Linked DNA regions of Homo sapiens: regions 2 and 3 are each linked to region 1. Evidence: promoter capture Hi-C in 16 types of primary human blood cells and fetal thymus (Javierre and others, 2016). All regions are on one chromosome and are shown on one strand. Each heading gives the region's core, a stretch centred on a gene start or on the middle of the fragment in contact. The rest is flanking DNA. Distances are from core to core; before and after follow the strand shown.

Region 1 (3,347 bases), core at 437-2,936:
TAATAGGATATTAATAATCTTTTCCAGTTATGTGAGAATTACTTGCCCTAGTCCCTTTTTATACTTTATAAAAAGGGAAGAAGGGAAACACTATAAATGACTTGTGGGTCAGAACTCTTTTGTCCTATTATTCTTTTTTTTTTTTTTTTTTGAGACGGATTCTTGCTCTGTCGCCCAGGCTGGAGTGCAGTGGCGCTGTCTTGGCTCACTGCAAGCTCCGCCTGCCGCGTTCACGCCATTCTCCTGTCTCAGCCTCCCGAGTAGCTGGGACTGCAGGCGCCCGCCACCATGCCCGGCTAATTTTTTTTTTTTTTTTTTTTTTTTTTGTATTTTTAGTAGAGAATGGTTTCACCGTGTTAGCCAGGATGGTCTTGATCTCCTGACCTCGTGATCCGCCCACCTCGGCCTCCCAAAGTGCTGGGATTACAGGCGTGAGCCACCGCGCCCGGCCTTTTTTTCTATTATTCACTGAAGAATCACCAGCTTCTTGGAGAGTACCTGATACATAGCGTGTATTCGGCAAATACCTGCTTAATTGAATTCGGTATTTATTGCATTTCTAGATGCTATAAGCTTGAGACTAGCAGAAAGTGATGCAGAATTCAGAATGGGTGATATGGCAAATGCCTTATTAAATATAGGGCTCGGCGCGGTGGCTCACACTTGTAATCCCAGCACTTTGGGAGGCCAAGGCGGGCAGATCACAAGGTCAGGAGTTTGAGACCAGCCTGGCCAATATGGTGAAACCCCGTCTTTACTAAAAATACAAAAATTAGCGGGGCGTGGTGGCGGGCGCCTATAGTCCCAGCTACTCGGGAGGCTGAGGCAGGAGAATTGCTTGAACCCGGGAGGCGGAGGTTGCAGTGAGCCGAGATCGCACCACTGCACTCCAGCCTGGGCGACAGAGAGAGACTCCATATCAAAAAAAAAAAAAAAAAAAAAAAAAGGATATGGATTGTATTCCATAAACAGTTGAACCTCTTATTCCTACTGCCCTGATAGTTGGTCTGGCTCCTAGAAATTCAGATTTTCTTCCCTCCAGGTGAGATTATGCGAAGAAAGGAACACTGGCAAAATTATTTCCCTGATTTTCTTCTCTCAGGCTGTCTTTCCCTCCCCTTTAAGATTGTGTACTCCGTCTCAAAAAAAAAAGAAAAAAAAAAGATTGTAGACCCAGCCTATAAATTCATAGGATCAAGAATTCTTACTAACACTCTTTCTAACAACCTTAAATCTCTGATAGTAGCACCCACTTGACTTCGTTTTGTATGGATAGATTTATTCTAATCTCTCTGTAGATTGTTTTAATCCCAAGCAGATGCGAGAGCATAAAATAGTGTATTTGCCCTCCCTCCAGGCTTTTCTGGTAGTATTTTGTCTGTGAAACTAAGAGGCTCTAGCTGCTATTAGAAGAGGGAAGGAGTAAGGATGAGCTTTTGAAAAAAAAAAAAAAAAAAAAACCCAGGGTGGAGAGAGTGGAAGGATGTGGTTTTAAGAGAGGGGGGAGGGAGGGCGTTATTGTCTGTGGGGCGGGGGCGGGGGTAGTTCTGATAACACAGAATTCCGAGAGATCACAAGATTGCTTCAGGGGGGTGGGGTGGGGTGGGGTGGGGCTGGGGGCTTGTCGCCCTTTCAGGCTCCACCCTTTGCGGAGATTATAAATAGTCATGATCCCAGCGAGACCCAGAGATGCTGTAATGGTAAGACTTTGGATCCTTCCTGAGGACGTGGAGAAAACTTGCTGCTGAGAAGGACATTTTGAAGGTTTTGTTGGCTGAAAAAGCTGTTTCTGGAATCACCCCTAGATCTTTCTTGAAGACTTGAATTAGATTACAGCGATGGGGACACAGAAGGTAAGAATGATATAATTACTGGTTATTTTTGCTTGTTTGGGATACACTCAGAAAGGCAAATATTAATGGTAATCTCCTTGTTCTATTTTCTCCTAAGTCACCAAGCTATCTTAAGGCCTTTTCATTTCGTCTCTAGCCTGCACTGCTGCCGCTTCATCAGTTCTCTTTGAATGTCATACAGTTCTGTTCACCTTATCATAGGAAAGTCACCCGGAGAAGTTGTGTTTGCTTCTCAGGTTTATTTTAGGTAACCATATGCCACTGAGGACGAGATGGTTGAGTGTTTAGAGGATCGGGCTGCTTGGTTGTATGGATTACAAGTGTGGGTCTCAGAGCCAGTGTGAAGACTTCTCTGGAAGCATTAGACCTTGAAAAGGTCTGTGTTTGGAGGCACAGGCCAGGGTCTGGCCATCTGTTTGTCCTATAACATATGGGGTTCGTGGATGCTAAGGAGAAAGAATTCCAGTTGTCCTTCCTATTAGGGTTAAAATCGTGAGTGCAGGACATACTAAAATATTGAGTGTTGTATATGCATTATTTGCAGGGAGAAAGGCTTTTCTTTTTTTTCTGATTGAGTTTTACTCTTGTTGCCCAGGCTGGAGTGCAATGGAGCGACCGCAGCTCACCACAGCCTCCGCCTCCCGGGTTCAAGCGATTCTCCTGCCTCAGCCTCCTGAGTAGCTGAGATTACAGGCATGAACCACCGGGCCCGGCTAATTTTGTATTTTTAGTAGAGACGGGGTTTCTCTATGTTGGTCAGGCTGGTCTCGACTCCCGACCTCAGGCGATCCGCCGGCCTCGGCCTCCCAAGGTGCTGAGATTACAGGCATGAGCCACTGCGCGCAGCAAGAAAGGCATTTTTTACCAAGATAAATTTAACTAAAAATAAGGGGCCAGGTGTGGTGGGTCACACCTATAACCCCAGCATTTGGGAAACCAAGGCAGGAGGATCACATGAGGCCTGGAGTTTGAGACTAGCCTTGGGCAATATAGTGAGATCCCATCTCTACAAAGCAGAAAGAAAGAAAATGTAGGAAAATAAGAAAGGGATGGAAAATTATGAGACTAAAGAAGAAAAGGCTCTCAAAGATAGTGAATGATGAGAGGAGACAGAAGAGATTTTTACTAAACGGAAAAAGATTTAACAGAGCATTGCACTGGCAGGGCCCTCCGGGGTACCGATGCTTAGCTGGGACTGAGACATCTGGGAGGCTGCAGGCAAGGTCACTTCTCCTGCTGAAGCTCCCAGCCTGCTGCCTAATCTGCCCGACCTGAAAGGAAAGGAGTTTAAGATATGAAAGGTTGAAGGGATTTTGGGTGGTGGGGTGGGGGGGAATGGCGTAGAAGTTGGCCTCAGGTATAAAAATTGAGCTGCCCCAAGGTAGAAATGGAAAATGTCTCGCCCGGCTGAATTATTCCAGGCAAGGTGAAGATGACCGGTTCTCCCCACTAAGAAATGTCTCTTATATGTTGGGTTCGCCCTTATATGTTGGG
Region 2 (3,345 bases), core at 135-2,634, 190 kb before region 1:
GGAATCACTTTCTTCGAGTTATGATATTTTGTCAAATGATGGGGGAAAAAAATTCAGTATTATATAATATGATTACATTTTTAGTAAAATACATATGCACATTATATGTATTTGTATGTGGAAGGATATTCACTAAATTGCAAATTATGATTTTCTCTAGATGATAAGAGTAATTATAATTCAAATATCTGTGTACCTCTGGTTAATTTTTTCTACAATGAACATTAATACTTGTGTAATAAAGAAATTATATAAAGTTTTTAAGGAGAAAAAATTTCCCTAAGTGCTCTCCACACCTTCACAGAGGTATTTTAGAAAGCGTAACTATAGTCCTGACCCCTTCCCCCATAGTTTCTTGTACTCTATATACATTCTTTTCTCTCTTTTGCTCTATACTTGAGATATCACACATGACACCCAAATCACCTTGCATCTACTCCCAAACGTAACAGAGTCTGTCTCAGAGATGCAACACGCAATAGGTTCTCTGATTTCAGAAAAAGTTTCCTGGAGATTTAAGAGACTTTCTTTGTAGACTTTCTAGTCTTTCATTTGCAAAGGCCTTTTGTTACATTTCCATCCATTACCAACAAATATACCCTCACCACTGTCCACCCAAACTCTTTCCCTCTAACTGATCAAAAAACAAATCTCACAAATTCATCAGGACCCCCTGCATCTGGATTGATGGTTTCAGAAGCTGTACTCAATCTCTTAACCCCAGCCCCACTCAGCCTCAGAAAACACAGGGGCATCAGAGCACTCGCCTTAGCTCAGAACTGGAGTGGATTTCTCTCACCTCTGTTTCAGTAAGCAGAGTGGAGGCTGAAGAGAGTGGCACAAAATCTTTTCTTCTCCACAATACAAATGTACACCCCGTAATGCGTATCTGCAGGCCACTCAATCTTCTGGGACTCTTGTGTTTCCCAGACATACTCAATCAGACAACCAGCAACTGAAAACACCTATGCCTTATTCATAAACCCTCTCCTCATCCTTCACCTCGTCATTCACTCTGACCCCTAGAAAATGATCTTTACCTGCAGAAGAGGCTGTGTTGATGCCTGAGGACTTGAATTCATTTTTGAACCTCACTTCAGCATAAGTGATTTCCGAAGTCATAATGGGAAGAGAGCTTCTGCTTTCTTCAGAAAATCTGTTTCAGATCTTTCTTAAAACATCTTATAAACAGGAACCAAACATGGTGGTAAATTACCTCCTTCCTTTCACTCAACTAGTGGAGAGCAGAGGCACCAGATAGGCACATATCCTCAAGAGGGGTCTCATGAGAACTAAGAACCACAATAAAAACTAAAAACCGCAGTTCACAGAAGCCCTTTCCTCAGGACCAGTATAGTGAGAATCACAGCCTTGAAACAAATGCAAGCAAATGCAATAAAAGTGGGAACTCAAAGGGTTGCGGAAAGAGGAAGAAAAATAAAAGAAGAACCAAGCACTTAGAGTCTTTCTGGAGAACTGCGTTTTTCACCAGTAAAAAATACAATTTCTGTGCTTCCACACACAAATGTAATTACTTTTGACCAAACATCCTGAACATAGACTTATGTTGCATTCATCTCATCAATTTTGACTGATCAGGCAACTTGTTAGTACCACATTCTAAGAGTATCATTGACACAAAACTCACATATCAGCCTCCCCACCTTCACGAATTAGTTTCCTGTAGCATGGTGGGGATGGCAAAGTTTAAACCCCATGTCTTCTGAAGCTGTTCCTCCATGCTCTCTGTGTTTCCTTGTTGGTAACTAACTCTATCAAAAGTCTGCATTCATCTTGCTAGAATCTCCAGAAAGCAGCTCCCTTTACTGGATGTTGGAGGAGAGGGAAGGCCAGCCTTTATTCCATGCTTCCCTAACCTTTTAATCGCCACATCACCTCCAATATATATGACTATTTTTTAACAGTTAGGAGAATTATATAGAATCACAGTATAGAAGGGGATAAACTTAAACAAAGTACTAAATATGACTTTTTCCAAAGGCCTAGAAGAAAACACTCCAAATATTAAATCCTTCATGTGGAATCTCTCCATAGACATGCTCCCAGCTCACACCTGGATTCTCTGCCCTCAACTCTCCGCAAATGATCCTCCTTTTAATCTCCCCCAGCTGATTCCTTCTCCTGCATAACACACATGCATACATGCATGCACACACACACAAACACACACGTCTATATTTCTATATTATTTCTATATCTAAATATATTGAACACCATGAGTTCACACTAATTCCTCTAATTCCAATCTAACACCACAAGTTTCATTCTAGTTTTCTCCCTTCCCACATTCCTAACTCCTTTCTGTGACACTAAGAAACCTGCTTTCATTGTCTTTCACTTATTCCTTATTTGATCAATCTCCTGGATGTCGTCAATCTCCCACCTGCTAAGATGTCCCTCTCTTCCTAGTTGGGCTCTGACTCCCCAGTCCAAGCCACCATCCCCTGCGCGGATGCCCTCCCTCCTCACTCTGAGAGTGCCGGCAAAGGGCCAGCCCACTCCCCACCCCCATGAACATCCCCCAACAAACATCCCCCTCACCCTGCCAAGGCTCTGACTCCCTGTGCTAGGCCATTCCTCTGCAGGAAAGCCCTCCTCACTCTGCTTGCACTCTGATTCCTGATGCTGGTCCCCTAGTCACCACTTAGACCCCCTTAGGTTCTAATGCTCCACACAAGGTCACCCTATGGGTGGAAGCCCTCCTCACCCTGGAGGGGTCTGATTTCCTCACCGGGCTATCCTACCACATGGACCACCTCCTTATCCTGCTAAGTTTCTGAAACCCACACCAAGTCCTCCCTCTGCATAGAAGCTTTCTTCATCCTGCTTGGGCTCTGACACTCCATGCAGGTCCTCCATCCCCCAGCAATAATGTCCATCTTACCCTACTTAGGATCTGAGTTCCCTCACTGGGCTACCCCACCACATGGACACCCTCCTTATCATGCTTGGTCTCTGAAACCACACCAGGTCTACCCTCTGCAAGGATGCTCTCTCTCCTCATCCTGCTTAAGTGCTGAGTCCCAACCCCAACTGGGCCAACACTAGGCATGGGTGCCCTCCTCACCTCTCCCACATGCTGACATACATACCAGGCTGGCCCTAGAGTACTCTGCTCAGCCATTTGCGACTCTGACTCCCTATAGAAGGTAACCTCATACATGGATGCCCTCCTCACCCTGCTTGCACTCCAACTCACTGCACCTGACTATCCCACCACATAGATGCCTTCTTTACCTCTCAGACTCTGACCTCTCACATCAGGCTACCCCTACTATGGACACCCTCCTCAATCTTATCCTCTGACACCCTGCACTGGGCCAT
Region 3 (3,450 bases), core at 96-2,595, 240 kb after region 1:
GACATGGAGAAACCCCGTCTCTACTAAAAATACAAAAGTAGCCGGGCATGGTAGCGCATGCCTGTAATCCCAGCTACTAGGGAGGCTGAGGCAGGAGAATTGCTTGAACCTGGGAGGCAGAGGTTGTGGTGAGCTGAGATCGTGCCATTGCACTGCAGCCAGGGCAACAAGAGCGAAACTCCGTCTCAAAAAAAACAAAAAAACAAAAAAACTGTAATGGATGCCCAAGTATGGCTCAGTGGGAGAAAGAAGTATCTCAATCTATTTTGGTGAGTCGAAACTGTGGAAGTAGAGGTGACCTTTGAACTTGGTCTGTGTAAAGGCTCTGAGATGAAATGAGCTCACAGAGCTACAAATAGGTCAATGTAATTAGAGCATCCACACTAAGGATGGTGGGTGGTGAGAAACAAGGCTGGCGGCTGGGTGTAGTGGCTCATGCCTACAATCCCAGCACTTTGGGAGGCCGAGGTGGGAAGACTGCTTGAGACCAGGAGTTCAAGACCAGTCTGGACAACATGGCAAGGCCCCATCTCTGTAAAAAATAAAACAATTAGCTGGAAGTGGTGCCCTATGCCTGTAGTCTCAACTACTCCAGAGGCTGAGGTGGGATGATCTCTTGAGCTCAGGGGGTCGAGGCTTGCAGTGAGCCAAGATCAGGCCACTGCACTCCAGCCTGGGCAACAGAGCGAGACCCTGTCTCAAAAATAAATAAATACATAAATAAAAATAAAAATAAAAATAAAATAATGAAATCTACTTGAGTATTTGTCTAATCCAGGGGTGTCCAATCTTTTGGCTTCCCTGGGTCACATTGGAAGAAGAAGAATTGTTTTGGGCCACACGTAAAATATACTAACACTAATGATAGCTGATGAGCTTAAAAAAATCACAAGAAAGTTTCATAATGTTTTACGGAAGTTTATGAATCTGTGTGGGGCTGCATTCAAAGCCATCGTGAGCCTCATGTGACCCTCCGGCCGCAGGTTGGACAAGCTTGGTCTATGTAGATGATTAATTACAAGTCTATGAATTATTCACTGCTCTATTCCTAGCACCTATCTCAGCACCGTGCACATAATAGATGCTTAGTAACTGTTTGTTAAATGAATAAATGCATGTCTCCTTTTCACTCTGTCTACTGCTGACAACCTCACATTGTTGTAGAATTTATGTCCATGCATTGGTAATCTTTGTTCTGTGAACTTTTTCCTGGAAGAGTAGAGCAAGAGAAGAGAAAAAAAAATTCCCTCTTCACATCCAATGGCCTTTGAGGAGCTGGGAAGAGAGCAATTCACACTTGATTATCTTACATCAGATAAATTAGCAGCCTCTGAATTGTTGGGCAGTCTGGCAGTGGAGCTCTCCCCGGTCTGACAGCCACTCCAGAGGCCATGCTTCGTTTCTTGCCAGATTTGGCTTTCAGCTTCCTGTTAATTCTGGCTTTGGGCCAGGCAGTCCAATTTCAAGAATATGTCTTTCTCCAATTTCTGGGCTTAGATAAGGCGCCTTCACCCCAGAAGTTCCAACCTGTGCCTTATATCTTGAAGAAAATTTTCCAGGATCGCGAGGCAGCAGCGACCACTGGGGTCTCCCGAGACTTATGCTACGTAAAGGAGCTGGGCGTCCGCGGGAATGTACTTCGCTTTCTCCCAGACCAAGGTAAGGAAATAGAGTGTTATCCAGAAAAACATCTGGAACTGGGTGGTGTGAAGAAAGGAAAGGACAATAGGAAATGACAATTACTGATGGCCTTGTGCTGGTATTTTTCATATTTTGTCTCATTTAATTCCAGCCACGATCCTGAGAGGAAGTTAGATATTCTTATCAAGTTCCTAACAGTAAGGAAATTAGGCTCAGACAGTAGGTAACCTGTAATCTATTCAAGATCATACAGCTAGTGTGTGAGAACAAAGTCAGGATTTGAAATAGGTTTTTGTTTTCTGAATCAACTGCTTTGTGCTTCAGTTGAGATGAAAGAGGTGAGGGAGGAATCAGAGCTCAGTCTCCCACCCTGCAGCCCATATATACACATCCTGCCGTCTTCCATGTGGCAAGCAGGGTATGAAAATTTTGAGGTTGGTTTGCCCAGGAGTCCTGCTTCCCTTATTTGTACCTCCTGGCTACTCTTGTTGGGTGGCAAAGGTTATTCTAGATTTGTGAATAGAGAGCAATAATATATACAACTGTCATATCCTTTTAAAAGGATCTCAGTGAGTGGGATCCAGTACTTTCCCAAACTGACCACCCACCAAATAACTTAGGTCTTCCATTAACAGTAGATCCTCCAACCCCATTCCTGCCCCTAGTTCTCCCCACCCAATTCTTATTCAAAGTCTGAAATGGGTGTTGAGAATCTGCATGTCTATACAACCTCCCGGGTGTTTCAGATGCAGAATTTAGAGCCTTGGTTAGTTTTACAGCAACTGGAGAGAAGATTTGAATATTTATTTGTCCAAGAAGCACTTATTGGATACCTATGGTGAGCCAGGAACTGTGTATGGCCTTGAGAATACAAGATAAAGTTTGCCTTTTTTTTTTTTTTTTTTTTTTGAGAGTCTCGCTCTGTCCCCCAGGCTGGAGTAGAGTGGCACTTTCTCAGCTCACTGCAACCTCCGCTTCCTGGGTTCAAGTGATTCTTCTGCCTCAGCTTCCCAAGTAGCTGGGATTACAGGCGTGTGTCACCAAGCCCAGCTAATTTTTTAATTTTTTAATTTTTTAGTAGAGACAGGGTTTCACTATATGTTGGCCAGGCTGGTCTTGAACTCCTGACTTCAGGTGATCCGCCTGCCTCAGCCTCCCAAACTGCTGGGATTACAGGCCTGAGCCACCGCACCCAGCCCAGAATTACCTTTTAAAAATGCGTATTGAGTCGTACTGCTCCTCCACGTAAAATTCTCGTCTGCAAAATTCTGCAAGAGTTGACCCACCATGCCCTGCCTGTTCTGACCCTGCTGCTTACTTCCCCAGTCTCACCTTTTACACCCTCTCCTTGCACACTCAACTCCAAGCTCATAGTAGTCTATTCCTTCTAGAGCATGCACTCTTGTCTCATCCTCACACGTGCTGTATCCAGGCTGCCTGAAGTACTCCCTCAGAATTTGCCTGGTCAAGTACTTCAGGCTTTTCTTCTTCTTCCTCTTGTTCTTCCTCTTTTTGTTTTTTCCCCTTGAGACAGGTCTTGCTGTGTCACCCAGGCTGGACTGCAGTGGCACAATCTCGGCTCACTGCAGCCTCCACCTCCTGGGCTCAAGCGATCTTCCCACCTCAGCCTGCCGAGTAGAGTAGTTGGAACTACAGGCTACAGGTGCACGCAACCACGCCAGGCTGATTTTTGTACTTTTTTATAGAGATGAGGTCTCACCATGAGGCTGGTCTCTAACTTCTGAGCTCAGGCAATGGCCTGCCTTGACCTCCCAAAGTGCTGGGATTATAGGCATGAGCCACCATGCC

Evidence for each region. The method cuts DNA at HindIII sites, captures the fragments that hold promoters and counts their contacts. A CHiCAGO score of 5 or more calls a contact.
Region 2: a contact is called between the fragment with the promoter of CLEC4A here and the fragment with the promoter of SLC2A3 in region 1, in 9 of 17 cell types (neutrophils, naive B cells, total B cells and 6 more). The highest score is 12.7, in neutrophils.
Region 3: a contact is called between the fragment with the promoter of GDF3 here and the fragment with the promoter of SLC2A3 in region 1, in 7 of 17 cell types (erythroblasts, M2 macrophages, M1 macrophages and 4 more). The highest score is 13.3, in erythroblasts.

The regions. Positions count from the first base shown.
Region 1 is chr12:7,934,526-7,937,872 of GRCh38, reverse strand. SLC2A3 (solute carrier family 2 member 3) reads left to right here and starts at 1,686. Exons shown (of 10, transcript NM_006931.3): 1 at 1,686-1,853. The coding sequence starts at 1,839. RefSeq lists a silencer at 1,508-1,557 and an enhancer at 2,625-3,347. The HindIII fragment of the contact is 4,746 bases long and covers 576-3,347 here.
Region 2 is chr12:8,121,656-8,125,000 of GRCh38, reverse strand. CLEC4A (C-type lectin domain family 4 member A) reads right to left here and starts at 1,384. Exons shown (of 6, transcript NM_016184.4): 1 at 1,041-1,384. The coding sequence starts at 1,122. RefSeq lists an enhancer at 1,465-1,514. The HindIII fragment of the contact is 7,899 bases long and covers 1-2,835 here.
Region 3 is chr12:7,693,670-7,697,119 of GRCh38, reverse strand. GDF3 (growth differentiation factor 3) reads left to right here and starts at 1,345. Exons shown (of 2, transcript NM_020634.3): 1 at 1,345-1,659. The coding sequence starts at 1,392. RefSeq lists an enhancer at 2,864-3,450. The HindIII fragment of the contact is 5,455 bases long and covers 996-3,450 here.